Regions from separate parts of the Homo sapiens genome. Here region 2 is linked to region 1. Evidence: promoter capture Hi-C in 16 types of primary human blood cells and fetal thymus (Javierre and others, 2016). All regions are on one chromosome and are shown on one strand. Each heading gives the region's core, a stretch centred on a gene start or on the middle of the fragment in contact. The rest is flanking DNA. Distances are from core to core; before and after follow the strand shown. Region 1 holds the start of SPRED1 (sprouty related EVH1 domain containing 1). Region 2 overlaps DPH6 (diphthamine biosynthesis 6).

What was found. Contacts are between HindIII fragments. The CHiCAGO score rates a contact against its expected background, and 5 or more counts as called.
Region 2: a fragment that was not itself captured here is called in contact with the fragment with the promoter of SPRED1 in region 1 in 5 of 17 cell types (total CD4 T cells, naive CD4 T cells, naive CD8 T cells and 2 more); the score reaches 10.9 in total CD4 T cells.

Annotation. Positions count from the first base shown.
Region 1 is chr15:38,251,519-38,254,218 of GRCh38, reverse strand. It overlaps SPRED1 (sprouty related EVH1 domain containing 1), which reads right to left and starts at 1,383. Exons shown (of 7, transcript NM_152594.3): 1 at 1,002-1,383. The coding sequence starts at 1,033. RefSeq lists silencers at 1,174-1,223, 1,234-1,293, 1,474-1,573, 1,674-1,723, 1,734-2,033 and 1 more. The HindIII fragment of the contact is 4,356 bases long and covers 911-2,700 here.
Region 2 is chr15:35,518,763-35,521,462 of GRCh38, reverse strand. The region is part of intron 3 of DPH6 (diphthamine biosynthesis 6); the gene reads left to right. Among named protein-coding and RNA genes, the nearest start is that of DPH6, 26 kb to the left of the region's middle. The HindIII fragment of the contact is 829 bases long and covers 886-1,714 here.

The DNA.
Region 1 (2,700 bases), core at 134-2,633:
TAAGTCCTAACTCACTTAACTCTTTCCAACCCTCCGAAGATAAACAAAAGTTGAACTTAATTACAAGAAAACGGATGCTAATATTCTGCTTGGAATTAAATCCCTTCTCAATAGAAAAGTGTTGCCAACCATTATTTCTCCACGCAGCTGTCACGTTAAAGCAAAACATTTAAAAGACGAAGTATTTCGTTTGGAAAGCAAGGAGAAAGCCCAAATAAGCTAAAACTTAAACCGGAATGCTCTAAAAGTTAATGAAATCACCAACATATTCAGCAATGTAAATTCGGTTACATCAACGTAAATCATGTGTTTTCACATAGCTGAAAGGTAAAAATTAGCATTCAAAATTCTTCTCCGTTCCTGAAGACACGTCCAATATTCACAAAGGTAAACTCTAGCTCAACATCGCCCACACTCCAGGTGTCCTTAATCCTATTAAATTCTAAAAATGTTTCCCTAACCCTATTTTTTACAAGAATCTTACAGGTCATAAGTTTAAAAGGGGGAGGGGGGAGAGGGTGAAGGCTTAATCGGTATTTAAGAGTCACTGACTCATCGAATTAAGATTCAAGAGCAGTTTGCTGCAGGAGGTGCTCCCACACATTAGTTTCCAAGTGAAACAGCTATAAAGGAAGTAGGATGGATACTGAAGGTATGGTGACTGGTATGTGAGTGAAAAAGGACGGGACAGGGGTCTCACAGGCAAAGGGGTAGTTTCTACTCCACTTCCATCCATCCACATTATTCCCTCTCATAGACGTACAATTGCCATCCTCTCCCAACACTTAATCCCCTACCCCAAAAGAAAGCAGCTAAATGTGGGAGGATGGGGAGGGGTGCTGCCACTAAAAATGGCTAAAGAAATCAGCTATCTCCAGAAGATGCACCGAACTCTCCAGGGTCGCAAGCTTTCCGGCACCCAAGTTTCGGATGGGTCTGGGGGAGAGCCGAGGGCGGATAGGGGGAGGGGGATTAGCAATCGAGATCAATGAGGCGCTTACTCGTTGTCAGAAGTCGCCGTCTCCTCGCTCATCTTTCCCTCACCGTGATCCGATCTGGAGATGGAGGAGCAACAGCAGGCGGGGGAGCAACAGCAGCACCGAGGGGCAGGAGGCAGCGGCGGCCGGGGGGGCGCGGGGGCAGCGGCACAGGGGCCTCACCATGGTGGATGCCTCACCCAGAACGGTACCCCCCCAGCCGGGAACCCCGGCCACCCCCGCAGGGGGGTGGCGGCAGCAACCTCCGCCGTGGCGACCCCAGCCTCTTCCCCCGCCTCAGTGCCCAGCCAAGGGATCCGAGGAGGCCCGGTGGAAAGGGAAAAAGAGAGGGGCTGCAAAGGCTGACTGGAGAGCTGCTCCTCCAGCCACTGGGGTGGAGCGCAGCGGGGTCCGGCCAGGAAGGAGTCGGCGGGCGGAGAACCCGGGAGCAGAGGCGGCGCTTCCCTCAGGGATGCGGCGAGGAGGAAGCAGAGCTCCGCTCGGTGGGGGCCGGCGGGGGGGTGCCGAGCCCAGGCTCCGGGCAGCGGCGGCGCGGTCCTGCCGGAGCCCACCCCACCATCTCCCGCCTCGCCGCCGGCTGCCCCTCAACCCCCGGCGGCGTCTGGGTCGGTCCTCAGGCGCCGGCAGAGCAGGGCTAGGGGCCCCGCGGCGGCGGATTCCTCCAGACACGCTCCAGCCGGGACTCCTCCTCAGGGGGGTGGAGGGGGCGGCGGGGAGCGTGTGAGGCGAGGGGCAGGCAAACCGATCGTTCCCACCCGGCCGGAGAAGAGCGGGCGGGCCCGGGTCCGGGGGGCAGGATCCCGAGAAGCGGCGGGAGAGGACAAGAGCGGCTGCAGGTTCCCCGCCAGCCAGTGCCCACCAGCAGCTCAGCGGGCCAGCTCCTCACGCCCGAGAGAGGGGAGCCGCGAGGGGGGCGGCGGAAGCGCTCACGCCGCCCGCTCCTTCCGCCGCCGCAGCCGCTGCCCGAACCGGGGGCGCCCGCGAGAGAAGGAGGCGAAGTAGTCCCTCGCGACTTCTCCCGGCCGCCCGCTTTCCCCGGAGGCCAGAGCGGGCGCGGGGTGGGGCTGCCGAGCGGGGTGCCCAGGCTGTGAGGGTGTGTGGGTAGGACTAAAAGCCGCGGCCTCCGGGCGAATCACTGCAACTCGAAGTCATGTGCAGCATAGCAAGTTTCAGGAAAGTAGTTCCCTCCTCCCTTCATTTCCCAAATCGTTGTCGAGCCACTTAGCGGAGAAAGGGGGAGGGAGGCGGAGGGATATCCTCCCTGCACCGTGCTCGGTGTGCGTGCGCGCGCTCCAAACTCTTGGCACGCCGCGAAAGGGGGCGGGGGTGGGAGCTGCGAGGGGAGCTGCTAGGGAGGTTGCATTGTTGTGGCGCGTTACTCCCCGTTACTCTGCTTGGAATATCCGGGTTGCTTGAACGAAGAGGCTAGAAAGACAGTGTGCTCAGAGGGGAAATCTGGAGGCTACTCTCTTCTGCCGTGTGTGTGTGTGTGTGTGTGTGTGTGTGTGTGTGTGTGTGTGTGTTTTCTTTGCAGAGCAAAGAATGGAACTGGCATGAGTTCATCTTTAGTTAGTGGGGGTTAGAAGCAGGGACTGCAAAGAGAGCTCCTCCTGCTGTCCCCCTGGTTGCACTGCTGCAGTCCCCTAGCTGCATGCACGAAGTGTATGTGTGTGTGTGTGTGTGTGTGTGTGTGTGTGAGAGA
Region 2 (2,700 bases), core at 51-2,550, 2.7 Mb after region 1:
GAAAAGCAATCAGCCTATGTTTAATTTTTCTGAATTTGTTCATTTACTTCCTAGAGGATCTTACAGATTCTTTAGATGATATAGTCTATTTATATAAAGTTGGTTCATAGGATTGTACATTCAACATTCATTAAAAAAGGTTGTTTATTATGTTTAGTGAATTACAGGACCATTATAAAAGCTTTCTGTTTATTTACATGCATTCAATGTACCTGTGACTAGAACTGCCTTGCCTTAGGAGGAAACTAAGCAAAACCCATAAATTAATAATTTAAGGGAGCAATACTCAAGTAGCATTTCAGTTAAAAAGTAAAGCCTCAGAGTCAGTACTAGCCACTTTAGCATTGCTTTACTTTTTGACTTTTATTGGCTGAAAATAACTTGTTAAACTGGAGCTTTTGTAATAAAATGAAATCTACATACCATCTAAAGCCCCTTCCCCTCCTTTTGATTTATGAGTAGGTTGACATATTACTGGAGAATTTGTAACACTTTCACAGTTCTGCACTTTGATTTCAGAGAAGGTGCTAATCTCTCTGGAATTTTGAGAGTGACAAAATGAGTTGTATACTGTTTTTCCAGGGAATTTGGGTTCCTTTATTAGAGGCCTTAGTTTTATTATGGTACCTGTATTAATGTGGATTTATCCAATATGTGATATGGTGGTATGATTAGATATACATTAATGGAGGATTTTTTTTTCATTGTACATATTCTACTTGGTTTGATCATATTATAATTCTCACAGCTAATGTCCATGTTTCTACAGAGGTTCAGCAATTCAGGATATTATTTTCAAATTACCAAAATGAGATAATTTAACTCCCTTTTACTTTTGCATTATTTTTAGTGGAAAAAAATTAAATGGTAGTATTATAAGAAGCTTTATGCTGTGTATGCTAGTCTTATTGTATATATGTACTGAAAGTACCTTTGACACTGTACTTAATTGGATTTAATTTCAAAGAATTGTAACAGGAATTATGTGAGAGAATAGAAAATATATGGAACTTAATTAAGTGCTGTCCATATGTAAAGGTAAGATTCATGACTATTGTTTGATGTAACTTATTTATTTTACATCCTGATACTGTTGTATAATAGCACAAAATGCATGTCTATGAGGAAAAACTTGCTTTTTCTATTTTACTTTGAGTTTTTATGTGTAATAAAATTATGCTTAAAATAGGCGAGGATTTCAGTTTTGATTCTTCTTCTTTTGTTTTTTTTTTGTTTTTTTTTGTAGCATGTTTACTTTCACGTGAGAGTGATTGATCTGTAGCTGTCATTTTATCCAAGAAGGGACAAATGGAATTGGTCTTTTAGACAAAAGTATGCAAACAGACTGCATTCTTTCTGTTGATAGAATTATGGAAGAATTGCATGAGGTGCCACATTCAGTTGCCTATTGATTGTAAAGAGGATTCTGCAGTGGGGTGCTGTTTCCAATGGATAAGGAGGTGCTATGATTACTTACCTTTCTCATGAAAGCACTACAAAGGGAAATGCAAAATGTGTGCAGTGCAGTCTTCTCTATTTGACAGTTGTTTTTGTTAAGTTTTTTCCCCCATTGAAGTCCAGCCTGTTTTAGAAAAACATACATTTTAGTTCTTTCCCCTTTATATCAGGCTTAGTAGATTTCCATGCATTTGACCCTTTAGAGAAATTACATGTTATAGACAGTTTTCTTTTTCTCAGCCTCTATTGTAAAGCTTCAAAGCTGATGCAACAGTGCCCTCTATAGTCTTTTAGTGAACATTAGACAGATGTAGATGATTTCAAATGTTCAGGTAAGAAACAGGACATTTAAATTTAATTTTTGTTCAAACAAGAGACCCCTTTTTCCTAAGTAGACATTCTTGTTTTTCACTAGTGGCTTTACTTTAAACAAAGAGAACAAAAGACCATTCTGAGTTTTCATTTAGAATTATTGGCTGCTTCTTCTTTTTATCCCTTGGTAAATCTCAAGTTTTATCAGACGTTCATCAGAGTAATTTGAGAAAGATGGAATCTTACAGGCTGTACTGTCTGTTCATGAAATATCTTTTTGAAGTTGAACTCTGATAGGAGTATTTTTTAAAAATAATTTAGTTCCTTTGTACTTGTTTTTTCTATTTAATTAGAATCTGAGTGGGCTGCCTAAAATTTGACTTCTATTTATTCCTGAATTGTGAAACCCAGTCGTTATACATGACATTATTTAAATTCAAACCAAGGGAGTTACACAATGACTAAAGTGTTTGTCATTCATTAGCATTGATTTAAATTTTAGATTTCCTTTTTCTCTTTTTGGTTACCTTTTTGATTGTATATATTGATAGCTAAGTTTTTCATTGTAAAATGCAACTAGATGTGAAGTTATGGATAATAAAAGCAGGAATCATATTTAGATATGATTAGAAGAGAAAAATGTTATGGATTAAGTTTATTTTGCTTCTGAAAGTGTTTTAATAAAAAGATCACGGGCCCAAGTCCTGGTTTCTTCATGTATTCACTATGTAATATTGAACACGTCTTAACCCCTGCAGCTGCTTTCTCTTCTATAAAATGGGAGTAAAAACACCTTATCCTTTGATGTTTTTGTGAGGTATTAGAGATAATATATTTAAGTTGGCCAGGTCATTAGAGATGCTCAAATGGTAACTTTATTTCCAAAACCACAGTGGGAAAGTAAATGGCTTTTATCTGAGGAAGTTTTTA